Regions from separate parts of the Homo sapiens genome. Here region 1 is linked to region 2. Evidence: promoter capture Hi-C in 16 types of primary human blood cells and fetal thymus (Javierre and others, 2016). All regions are on one chromosome and are shown on one strand. The core of a region is centred on a gene start or on the middle of the fragment in contact, and the rest is flanking DNA. Distances in the headings are between cores, read along the strand shown.

Evidence for each region. Contacts are between HindIII fragments. The CHiCAGO score rates a contact against its expected background, and 5 or more counts as called.
Region 1: a fragment that was not itself captured here is called in contact with the fragment with the promoter of PIGS in region 2 in 3 of 17 cell types (naive B cells, total B cells and M2 macrophages); the score reaches 5.4 in naive B cells.

What each region holds. Positions count from the first base shown.
Region 1 is chr17:28,497,372-28,502,979 of GRCh38, reverse strand. SLC13A2 (solute carrier family 13 member 2) reads right to left here. Exons shown (of 12, transcript NM_003984.4): 12 at 5,199-5,608. Among named protein-coding and RNA genes, the nearest start is that of FOXN1, 6.2 kb to the left of the region's middle. RefSeq lists a silencer at 1,636-1,832. The HindIII fragment of the contact is 4,283 bases long and covers 180-4,462 here.
Region 2 is chr17:28,568,791-28,574,766 of GRCh38, reverse strand. PIGS (phosphatidylinositol glycan anchor biosynthesis class S) reads left to right here and starts at 3,243. Exons shown (of 12, transcript NM_033198.4): 1 at 3,243-3,304; 2 at 3,579-3,718; 3 at 3,804-3,915. The coding sequence starts at 3,271. It overlaps ALDOC (aldolase, fructose-bisphosphate C), which reads left to right. Exons shown (of 9, transcript NM_005165.3): 5 at 1-71; 6 at 190-273; 7 at 526-700; 8 at 833-1,032; 9 at 1,146-1,647. The coding sequence ends at 1,241. RefSeq lists enhancers at 2,863-2,912, 3,603-3,722 and a silencer at 3,703-3,899. The HindIII fragment of the contact is 5,378 bases long and covers 1-5,072 here.

The DNA of each region.
Region 1 (5,608 bases), core at 1,072-3,571, 71 kb after region 2:
CTCACTGCAGCCTCCACCTCCTGGACTCAAGTGATCCTCTCACTTCAGCCTCCCCAGTAGCTGGGACTACAGTTATACCATGCTCAGTTAGTTAAAAAAGAATTTTTTTTTGTAGAGATGGGGTGTTGCTCTGTTGCCCAGGCTGGTCTCAAACTCCCAAAGCACTGGTATTATAAGCTTGAGCCACGACATCTGGACTGTAAAGTATTTTAAAGTAGCAAGTAAAAAATTTAATAAATGGAGTTGGGGCAATGAACTTTCCATTGGAAAGAAATAAAGTTAAATCCTACTTCACACTGTACATTAAAAAATCTAGATGGATTAACAATCTAATGTAAAAATGAAAATCATACAAACAAATAGAAAAAATATAGGAAATATTTTTATGATTATGGAGTGGAGAAAGGCATTTTTAAACATGACATCAAATGCAGAAGCCATAAAGGAATACATTGACAGATTTGACTAAATAAAAACTGTAAATTTCTTTAGAGCAAAATGTAACATGAACAAAGTTAAAAGACATAACATAGCCTGGAAGAAAGTGTTGAAACATATGTAACAGATAGAGAGTTAATAGCCACAATATATAAGGAGCTCCTCTAAATAAATAAAAAGATGATTTCACAGAAAAATGGGCAAAGGACACAAGCAATTCACAGGTAAAATACAAACGGCCAAGACACAAGTGAAACGATTTTCAACTTCATTAAAAATCAAGAAAATGCAAATTAATTCAGGGGCCAAGGGTCTCAGGGAGGCCCTGATGGGATGCCCAGGAGAGACTGTAGTTATCACCTCCCACAGTGAGACTGCTTCTGGCGGGTGAGATGAACTTCTTTCTCTTCCAAATCAGGATCCACCTCTGCCCCAGGAATGGGTGTAGGCTCTGGCTCTGGCTCCCTCTTTCCTTTGGGAAGCATGACTTCCTCATTGCATGCAGTCTGGGAGTTGAAACAGGAACCTTGGGATTGCCACAGTCCTTGGACTGAAAGGGGATTTGTGAGGTGTTTCTCCTCTGTCTCTAGATAGGACCATCCCCTCCTTCTCTCATCACACCAGCCCTCCAGAATTCTCTCTTAGGCCCAGAAAGTCTGTCCTGGTGTCTAGCCTCAACTCCAGCTGCTGCAGTATTGGGAAAGGACTTTTGTCTGGAGTTTTGGTCCCACACACTCCAGCACCCTCATTTCAGGTCCTCAGATGGAGCTGAGCTGGGCTCTGGCCTGGAGGAGCTGCAGCTAGATGCTTAGACAGGCTGGGGCCAGAGAAAGCTCTGTCCCTCTGAATACTGGAGGTCAGAAGCAGTTCACTGTATGCTGCTGAGCTGTGCCCAGGGCTGGGCTGCTTTGGGCCAGAAAACAGCCCTGGCTGGGGATGGAAATCCCTGGGGCCCATGTCTGCTATGCTTCAGTCTGGGGAAAGACCCTAGGGACGCTAGGAAGAAGGAAGAGCATGTGCCCACCCTTGGGAGCCCCAATGTGATGGAGGAGGGGGACCCCTTCCTGAACCCTGCATCTGGATTGGCCATCTTCTGTCTGCTTCCGCTCATGCAGGCTGGACTTGCTTTTCCAAAGTGAGTTCCCAAGATTTGAGCCTGCTGCTTTCCAAGTCTCACTCCACTGGTGTGCAAGACACTGAAGAACATCCACAGAGGAACAGGGCCCAAGCAAAGCTGCCATGAGGCCCTGAGGCCCAGGGACCACATGTCAAAGAAGGGGTGGGGAGATCTGGGGTTAATTAGGGTGAGCTTCCTGGGGAAGAGCAGACAGCTCATTGGCTGTGGCTGATGGAGAAGCACCCAGAGCTGTGGAGGGCGTGTGGCGGGGCAGCTGGGCCGAGGTCTGAGCCTGTTCTGGTTGGCTGACCCCCTGGGAAATCCAGGGAGTTTCCAATCTGAGAGCTTGGTGGGGGGGTCGGTGGGGGAGGAACACAGAGTCCTGCTGGGTGGGGAGGGCTTCTCACCTCTTGTCTTAATCCCTCCTGCTGTGGAGGTGGGAGAAGCAATGCTGGGGTGTGTGTGTTTTCACTGGTGTCAGTGTCTGTGTAAGTACATGTGTACCTCTGCATGAGTGTGTACGTATTTACATTTGTGTTCTCACTTTCACGTGTCACCATGGGTGCGCCTGAAGTCTGTGGAGCTGTAATGTGCTACTGGGTATGTCCGTGCCAGAATCTGTGTCTAAATGTGGGTAGCCACATGCAGCGAGAACACTCAGGTCTGACACGGGGTGCGGAGGCGTCTGAGCGACTGTGTGTGTACAGGTGGCTGTGGCTGTGTATGTCTGTGTGTGTTTCTGGGGGTGGTCCTGTGTGTCTTTCAGGCTGTGAGAGCCTGTAATGTTGTATGCATGAGTGTTTGTGTGTGAATGTGTGTAACTGTGTGTTCCCGGGTATCCATGTCTGTGCATGTGTCTATGGGTTCTGTGGGTACCCAAGGATCTGTGACTCCACGTACACACATTTGTGGGTCTTTCCACCCTTCAGAGCACTCTTCTGAGTCCCCGTCACATTCTTTCCAACTAGGCTGCTCTGTTCCCTTCCTTGCCTTCTCCTCTGCACACCCCCTTCCCCTTCCCTTGCCAAACTGGGGTGGAGGCTGCAGGGTTGGAGACTGGTACTCCACCAGAACTTCACCCACCCAGTTCTACTCGACCCCTGACCCAACACTCCCTAGCTTCCTCCACCCTTCCCTCCCTCCTTCAGAAAGCAGCCTCCCCTCCAAGACTGTGAGGAGATAGGAAGTCATGGCCTGCGCCCCCAAGGAGCCTACTCTGGGGCCAATGACCTTAACCTCTAGAGCGCACTTTGGCCGGGGCCCAGGTCCAGGTGAACTCAGAGAGTGGTGTGGACAGCCCTGCTCCTGCCTCCACAAGCTCCCTAACAAGCTCCACCTATCCCTGGGCCCTGTGGTTGCCATAGAGGGCTGGTGCTGGCTGGCAGGAGGAGGGAGTAGGGAAACAGGGACACTCCCAGGACCTCAGGGGACAGGGTCAGGGGAACACTATGGGTCGGCTCAGAAATCTGGGCCTATCTGCTGAGCTTAAGGTGACATTGGCCCAGAGAGGTCAAGATATTTCTCAAAGTCACACAGCACTCCACACACGGCAGTCTGGAAAGAGGCTTGGAGGGGAGCGTGTCCAGCTTCCCTCTGGGAGCAAGAAGCTCCCGTATAGTTCCCACACATTCCTCCTTCATGCACTATTTGCTGTGCCAGGCCCTGTGGAGGAACTGGGGACACAGCTCGAATCAGGCAGACTGTCCTCAAGTCACTTCCAGACTTGTTGATCTTAGCAATGGGATGCTCACTACCGCAGAAGTTGTTGAGTCCCAGCACCGCACAAGTCCAGCTGGTAGGAGACACCCAAAGCTCACTGCTAACTTCCTAGAAGCCATCAATGATGGGGTGTGGGTGCCTGGGCAGCGAGGCTGCAGACTCAGTCCCAGCAGGGCCCATCTACCTGCCGCAGCCTGGAGTGTGTGTGGAGCCGAGCTGCCGGGCTGCCTGTGTAAACCTGACCTGGCTGGCGGGCCCTTCCTTCAAAGACTAGCCCAGGCCGTGCCGCTTTATTGCCCAGTTAATGATGGTGATTAGGCCGACAGGTGCCACCTGCTGCCTGTCCACCCTCCTGCCTGCTAAAGAGGGTGTTTTCTGAGCACCTAGGGGAGGCTTGGCCCCAGAGCTCTGCCAGGGCATCCACCGCAGCCAAACTGTCGACCCTCAGGCTGGCTGGCGTCCACCTCCTTCCTGGAGAATGCAGGGCCAACCGGGTGCTCACTTTCTGGGACTGCTGTGTGATCTCAGTCCACACCTGACCCTCTCTGAGCCGGACTGAGGGGGAAGTGTGCCGAGAACAGTGGGCAGGGCATGTGCACCCTGAGAAGCACACTCTCCTTTTCCCCAGCCAGGGTCCAGAAGGAAGTGGCAGCAGAGGGTCCTCCTTGCAGATGGAGCTGGGCTGCTCCTTAGGGAGCCACTGCATTGTGGGTAGGCCACTGGGGGAGCCCCAACATTCTGGGGCCAGCCGTTTCCAATGCAGGGGACTGTTGCCTGGGGCTTTGGTGGGTGGGAGGGGGTCCTCCTGTGGGTCTGAGTGGGAGCTGTGATTTATGGCTGTGCTTCATGAGTGAGGAATGCCAGCCTGGGGGACCAGGGTGGGGCTGGAGCCACCCGCCTGACACTCCTGGCTCTCTGGGATGCCTGGCGTGTCCTGTCAGGACCCCCTGTCCCCTGGGGACAGCCACGTACTCCCCCACGCAGTGCCCCCTCCTAACTGCACTTCCAACCCCCAGCTCTGGGAGGACCCAGTGAAAGCCCGGCCCAGGGGGATCCAGAAGGAAATCCTTTCTGGTTTTCTCTCTTCACAGCCCAGCCCCCTTTTTCATTTGGGCATGAAGGTGATGAGAAATATCTCTTTTCTGTCCCACTGGAGGAGGAGGGGATGGGGTGAGACTCTAGGAAGCTTCCTTCTGGATGAACTCAAGGCTGACACGCCACTGTCCACAGTGGGCGAGACTTAGCATCAACACAAAGATGAACTTCCAGCAGGGAAGGGCTGTTTGGCTCGCAGATGGAACGATGGATACGGTGTCATTCTTCCCCATCCCCACCCCCACCTTGCTAGATAAATGAAAACTCTGGAGTCCATGAGGATGTGGGGTGGGGGAGTGTGGGGAGGCCGGGTGGAGGTGGGGTGGGGGAGGCGGAATCATCCAAAGTTTTCTGGTCCTGGACTCTGAAGGCCATGCCAGTTTCCAGCCTGTTGCTGTGCTGCAGGATGAGGGTCGGTCCTCTGGGCACCCAGCACAGGTCAGCCTGCCTTCTCTGGCCTGGTGGGACCGGTTTTTCCAGCTGGAGGAAGGGTCGATGAGGAATTGGCAGGGGCAGAGGGTTTTATGTAAATACCCAGGGAGTGCTCTGGGAACGGGGAAGCTGGTTTTCCCAAAGACACGCAGGGACTGGCAGCTCCCAATTAGCCAGGCCCAGTGATGTCAGTGCTGCTCTCCTAGGTGGCTGCGCCCACTCTGATGGGCCTTGGCAGGGATGCCCGGCCATTACCTTCCCCCCTGGGTGGGAGGGGTGCCAAGGGGGCTGCATATAGGACAAAGGCCAGGCCCCCTCCTTCTGGACTCCCCCAACCTGGGGTCTGAACCACATTGGGGACTAGCCCTGGAGAGTGCCATGAAAAACCATCCCAGACTTTACTGAAAAAGACTTTAATGTGACTTTAACAGCCCAGAGGCTGTTCCCGTGGCAGCTGCTGGCAGGCCCTCCTCCCAGGCCACTCCAAGCCTGAATTTCAATAAATACAGTGCAAGTAAGTCTGGTCACTAAGCTGGGGATACCAAGACCTGGGGCACCAGAGAGGGCATGTTGTATTGTCTGTGAACACACACGTGTGCACTGTCCAACATACATACCTAGGATCATGTGCATGCACACAGCCCCCCTCAGATAGCCTCACGTCACACACCCCTCACATCCATGCAGGCGCACACATATGCGCACACACACATGCACACACCTTTTATTCCAGCACATAGGAAACTGAGCATACACCCCTTCCTTACAGACACGCAAGAGATTATGTACACACGTGCCTTTCAGCCT
Region 2 (5,976 bases), core at 1,994-4,493:
GTACACCCTCTGCACTTGCCATTCTGGAGAACGCCAACGTGCTGGCCCGTTATGCCAGTATCTGCCAGCAGGTGTGTGTGTTGGGAGGGTGGTGAGCTAGGTGCCCTGTATGCCTGGTGGGGAGAGAGTCACAAGGCTTTCTTCATCTCCCCTACTGCCCCTCCCAAGCATCTCTGCTCTTGCCTGCAGAATGGCATTGTGCCTATTGTGGAACCTGAAATATTGCCTGATGGAGACCACGACCTCAAACGTTGTCAGTATGTTACAGAGAAGGTGAGTCCACACCTGGGCACACAAACATACTGCAGGGACAGCTCGGCAGGAGTGTCTGTTCCCCAGAACCCCCAGCTTAGATCCAGGCACACTTTCCCCTAGCACTTTTTCACTTCATCCCGGCACAGGCCTGTGATCTGAGCCTGTACTGAGCCCTCACAGTCTGTGCCCATCTACCCCTACATAGGGAGCATCGAGCAGTAACCAGTGGGGGCCCAGACCCTTAGTAAACCTCCTCTAATCCCCACCCAGGTCTTGGCTGCTGTGTACAAGGCCCTGAGTGACCATCATGTATACCTGGAGGGGACCCTGCTCAAGCCCAACATGGTGACCCCGGGCCATGCCTGTCCCATCAAGTATACCCCAGAGGAGATTGCCATGGCAACTGTCACTGCCCTGCGTCGCACTGTGCCCCCAGCTGTCCCAGGTACTACCCAGCTCCCTAACCTGCTCCTATCCCTAAGGCCCATCTTCAGGTCCTTCTTGTGGCCTTCAGGGGTTCCCTATCCTGGAAAAATTGGGAGTGACCAGTCAGTTTGTCTTCTCTCCTCCACACTAGGAGTGACCTTCCTGTCTGGGGGTCAGAGCGAAGAAGAGGCATCATTCAACCTCAATGCCATCAACCGCTGCCCCCTTCCCCGACCCTGGGCGCTTACCTTCTCCTATGGGCGTGCCCTGCAAGCCTCTGCACTCAATGCCTGGCGAGGGCAACGGGACAATGCTGGGGCTGCCACTGAGGAGTTCATCAAGCGGGCTGAGGTTGGGAGCTACAGGTGGTGGTGGGTGGGGGCAGCACCCAGAGGCTATAGCCTGGGCAGGGCTTGGCACCTGTGGGCTGGCTCAGCCTGCTTACTCCACGCTCCCTTTTGCAGGTGAATGGGCTTGCAGCCCAGGGCAAGTATGAAGGCAGTGGAGAAGATGGTGGAGCAGCAGCACAGTCACTCTACATTGCCAACCATGCCTACTGAGTATCCACTCCATACCACAGCCCTTGGCCCAGCCATCTGCACCCACTTTTGCTTGTAGTCATGGCCAGGGCCAAATAGCTATGCAGAGCAGAGATGCCTTCACCTGGCACCAACTTGTCTTCCTTTCTCTCTTCCCTTCCCCTCTCTCATTGCTGCACCTGGGACCATAGGATGGGAGGATAGGGAGCCCCTCATGACTGAGGGCAGAAGAAATTGCTAGAAGTCAGAACAGGATGGCTGGGTCTCCCCCTACCTCTTCCAGCTCCCACAATTTTCCCATGATGAGGTAGCTTCTCCCTGGGCTCTCCTTCTTGCCTGCCCTGTCTCCTGGGATCAGAGGGTAGTACAGAAGCCCTGACTCATGCCTTGAGTACATACCATACAGCAAATAAATGGTAGCAAAACATTCTACTTTGCCTGTCTGTTTTACACATCAAATTCCCACCTCCCAGTTTCTGATCTCTGCTAATTCTATCTCTGGGCCCTCTGACTCTGGAGGTGGAGAGGGTGGGATTTGAGTCTTACTGGGCTTCAAGTTATGGAGGAAGGGCACATGCAGTCACCATCCCCAGCTCAGGCTCTTGCTCTCTTGATGTCCAAGTCTGGAGTGGGGCAATGAGGAAGACTGCAAGTCTTCTAGGGACTGCCACATCAGTGGCACTGGGCTGCAGCTACAGAAGTATGGAGTGAGGCCAAACTGGCAACTCCTGAAGGCAGATTTGTGCAAGGCTCAAAGCAGGGAGGCAGCAAGACAGGCTGGGATAAGAGTGGGTGGGAGTCTCTCCCATCTCGCAGTGTTAAGCCCAGCTGGGACCTGGTACCTTCCACTAGGGTGAGCCACACCAGTAAGGGCAAGCGAGCACCTGGACTCCCGCCCAAAGAGGAAAACCAAGGCTCTGCGGGCTGCCAGGGCTGAGCAGGGCATCTAGGAGGTTGCCAAGGGCTATGGCCCATTTTCATTTGGGGTAGAAGTGGGCACAAAGGGAGCCAATTGGAGGGTCTGGGTAAGGACAGCTCTGGTGAGGCCTGATGCTGAACTTTAACCACTGGGCTGGGTTGTGAGGTAGGCTGAGAACCTGGGTCTAAGCAGATAAAAAGAAGAGATAACAAGCTGCGTGTGTTCTGTGTCAACTGGGGAGGCTACAAATGCTCCACCCTGTGTGGCCTGACTTTATAATAACAAAAATAGCTTGCACATAGCACCAACCCTGTTCTAATCACTTTATATGTACTGACACATTTCATACAACTCTATAAAGTAGGTACTATTACTATCATCCCTATTTTAATAGAGAAAACAGGCACAGATAGGCACAGAACGATCTTCTCACGATCACTCACCTAATAAGTGATGAAGCCAGGATTTGAACCGCAGTGATCAGCATCTAGAGTCTGGGCTCATGACTTTTCAAGATTTTTAAGTGAAGTATTCTGAGTTTTCCAAGTTGGAAATGAATTAAAACGTATTTTAAAATAGCGAGAGAGCCAATTGTGCTAAAACATACTAGCTTGCTACCTCCGTGTTTGAGGCTTTGAGGAGAGGGCACCCTAAGAGGAGTTCTACGATAAGGATAATAAGACCGTGACAGTTGACGTTGAGGGCTTTCCGTGTGCCAGGCTCCTTACAAGAACGGCCTCATTTATGTAAATATCTCCATTTTCAGATGAGCCTCGGAGCTGCCTGTAGTTGCCCAGCTAGTATTTAAGGACTGCAGAGGTTGCGCTCTTGATTGCGGGGCTAGAAGTGTGTTCTACAGGGAAGCGGGGAACTTCGTTCCAGCAGCGCCGAAACCCGCACGGCCCCTAGGCTGTCCCTCCGCGCCCGGGTGACTTCCTTTCAGATCCCCAGCGAAGCTCCCAGCGGAGCCCTCCCACCCCTCGCCCGCTTGCTCCCGTCTGCGGGTCTGGAGTAGCGCTCGCGATTGGCCCCGATCACCGCCGCGGTCCTGCCCCCTCGTTGCAGAGATTCCGATTGGGTGAGGCTCACGAAGCTCTGCCCCCACGGTGGCCGGAGCAGCCGGAAGCTAGCATGGCGGCCGCCGGGGCTGCGGCTACACACCTAGGTGCGGTGGGCTTCGGGTGGGGGGCCTGCAGCTAGCTGATGGCAAGGGAGGAATAGCAGGGGTGGGGATTGTGGTGTGCGAGAGGTCCCGCGGACGGGGGGCTCGGGGGTCTCTTCAGACGAGATTCCCTTCAGGCTTGGGCCGGGTCCCTTCGCACGGAGATCCCAATGAACGCGGGCCCCTGGAGGCCGGTGGTTGGGGCTTCTCCGCGTCGGGGATGGGGCCGGTACCCTAGCCCGTTTCCAGCGCCTCAGTCGGTTCCCCATGCCCTCAGAGGTGGCCCGGGGCAAGCGCGCCGCCCTCTTCTTCGCTGCGGTGGCCATCGTGCTGGGGCTACCGCTCTGGTGGAAGACCACGGAGACCTACCGGGCCTCGTTGCCTTACTCCCAGATCAGTGGCCTGAATGCCCTTCAGGTGAGACTGCTGTGCGGGAGGGTCGGGGGACAGCCCCCCCGGCAAGGTGGAGACTCAGTGACGGCCCTGATGCTCCTTCCTGTAGCTCCGCCTCATGGTGCCTGTCACTGTCGTGTTTACGCGGGAGTCAGTGCCCCTGGACGACCAGGAGAAGCTGCCCTTCACCGTTGTGCATGAAAGAGAGATTCCTCTGAAATGTGAGTTACTGGGGATCAGGGCTGCTTTTCGCCTCTGAGCTCAGTTCAGAGCTGAGTTGGGTGGGAGGAGCGGGGGTGTACCATAAACGCAGTTAAAAACTTACTGTTGAAAGACCTCTGAATGAACAGTGTGTTTGGTCAGAAAAAAACTACTTTCAAATTCACAGTCACTAAATAGCAATTTTACTCGTAAGACAGGCTACCTAATCGGAAGCAGTTGATGCCCATCAGGGTATAGGGGAAGAGGTGGGATATAGTGGAAAGAACACAGAGTTTGAAATTAAATTGGATTTGCATATAGGCCCTATTTAGTTTGTTTGTTTATTTATTTATTATATTTTGAGACGGAGCTTCGCTCTGTCGCCCAGGCTGGAGTGCAGTGGCGCCATCTTGGCTCACTGCAACCTCTGCCTCCTGGGTTCAAGCGATTCTTCTGCACCAGCCACCCGAGTAGCTGGGATTACAGGCGCGCGACACTACGCCCAGCTAATTTTTGTATTTTTAGTAGAGACGGGGTTATGCCATGTTGGCCATGCTGCTCTCGAACTCCTGACTTCAGGTGATCCGCATGCCTCAGCCTCCCAAAGTGTTGGGATTACAGGCGTGAGCCACCGCGCCCAGCCCCTATTCAGTTTAACATTAAACACTTTACTGGGGTACTTTTTTTTAGGTACCAAGAATTTAGGAATGAATAAGAAATTGATAATGGTTTCAAGATGTTCATAGGTAGGGGAGAAAGATAAAATAAATTACAGTAGAAGTATACAAGAAACAGAGATTGCACTTAGTAAAGAGTATTAACCATCTGGGAGGAAAGAAAGGCAGAGAAAGTTTTGAGAGATGTAATTCTTAAGTCGGATTTTTAAAGGATGTGTAGGAATTCAGGTTAAGTGGGAAAAGGAGGGAGAGAATTTCAGGCAAAGTTAATAGCATGAGACAGTATAAGGATAGCTGATAGTTGTTGCTCGCTGTGTGCCAGAAACTAGGTGAAGCATTTTATATGTGTTGCCTCATTTAATCCTTTCTAATGATATGATCCCCATTTTATAAATGAAGAAACTGAGCCTTAGAGAATTTAACTTGTGCAAGGTCACACAGCTAGTAAGAGATGGAACTGGGATTTAAATCCAGGCCTGACTGATTCCAGTGTTCAAGCTTTTAACCAACAAACTATACTCCTGTGTGAAAGTGTGGCGGGGTGAATCAGCATATTGGGGGACCTATGAGCAGTTTTGCCTTACTGGAATGTGTAGTGAAAGACTGGGAATGACTGGAGATTTGGGCTGAGTCTAGAGCATGAGGCATCTGTGTGCCATTTACTTTTTTAGTTCTTTAGCCTTGGTGAAAACTTTTCTTTTCTTTTTTTTTTTTTTTTTTGAGAAAGGGTCTCTCTTTGTTGCCCAGGCTGGAGTATGGTGGCACGATCAGGGCCCACTGCAGCCTTGACCTATTGGGCTCAAGCGATCCTCCCATCTCAGCCCACCTGCCTTAATAGCTGGGACTACAGCCGCACACCATCACACCCAGCTGATTTGTTTTGGTATTTTTAGTAGAGATAGGGTTTCGCCATGTTGCCCAGGCTGGTCTCGAGCTCCTGGGCTCAAGTGATCAGCCTCCCAAAGTGCTGGGATTACAAGTGTGAGCCACCGCACCCGGCTGGTTAAAACATTTTTTTAAAAAAATGATATTTCGTATGGTTCAGCCTCTGTACACACACAAACTTCTGGTTTTCTTTCTTTTTTTTTTTTTTTTTTGAGATGGAGTTTCGCTCTTGTTGCCCAGGCTGGAGCGCAATGGCACGATTTTGGCTCACTGCAACCTCTGCCTCCTGGGTTCAAACGATTCTTCTGGCTCAGCCTCTGAAGTAGCTGGGATTACAGGCGCCTGCCACCACGCCCAGCTAATTTTTTGCATTTTTAGTAGATACGGGGTTTCACCATGTTGGCTAGGCTGGTCTCAAACTCCTGACCTCCAGTGATCCACCAGCCTCGGCCTCCCAAAGTGCTGGGATTACAGGCGTGAGCCACCATGCCCAGCCAAACTTCTTGTTTTCTAAACAAA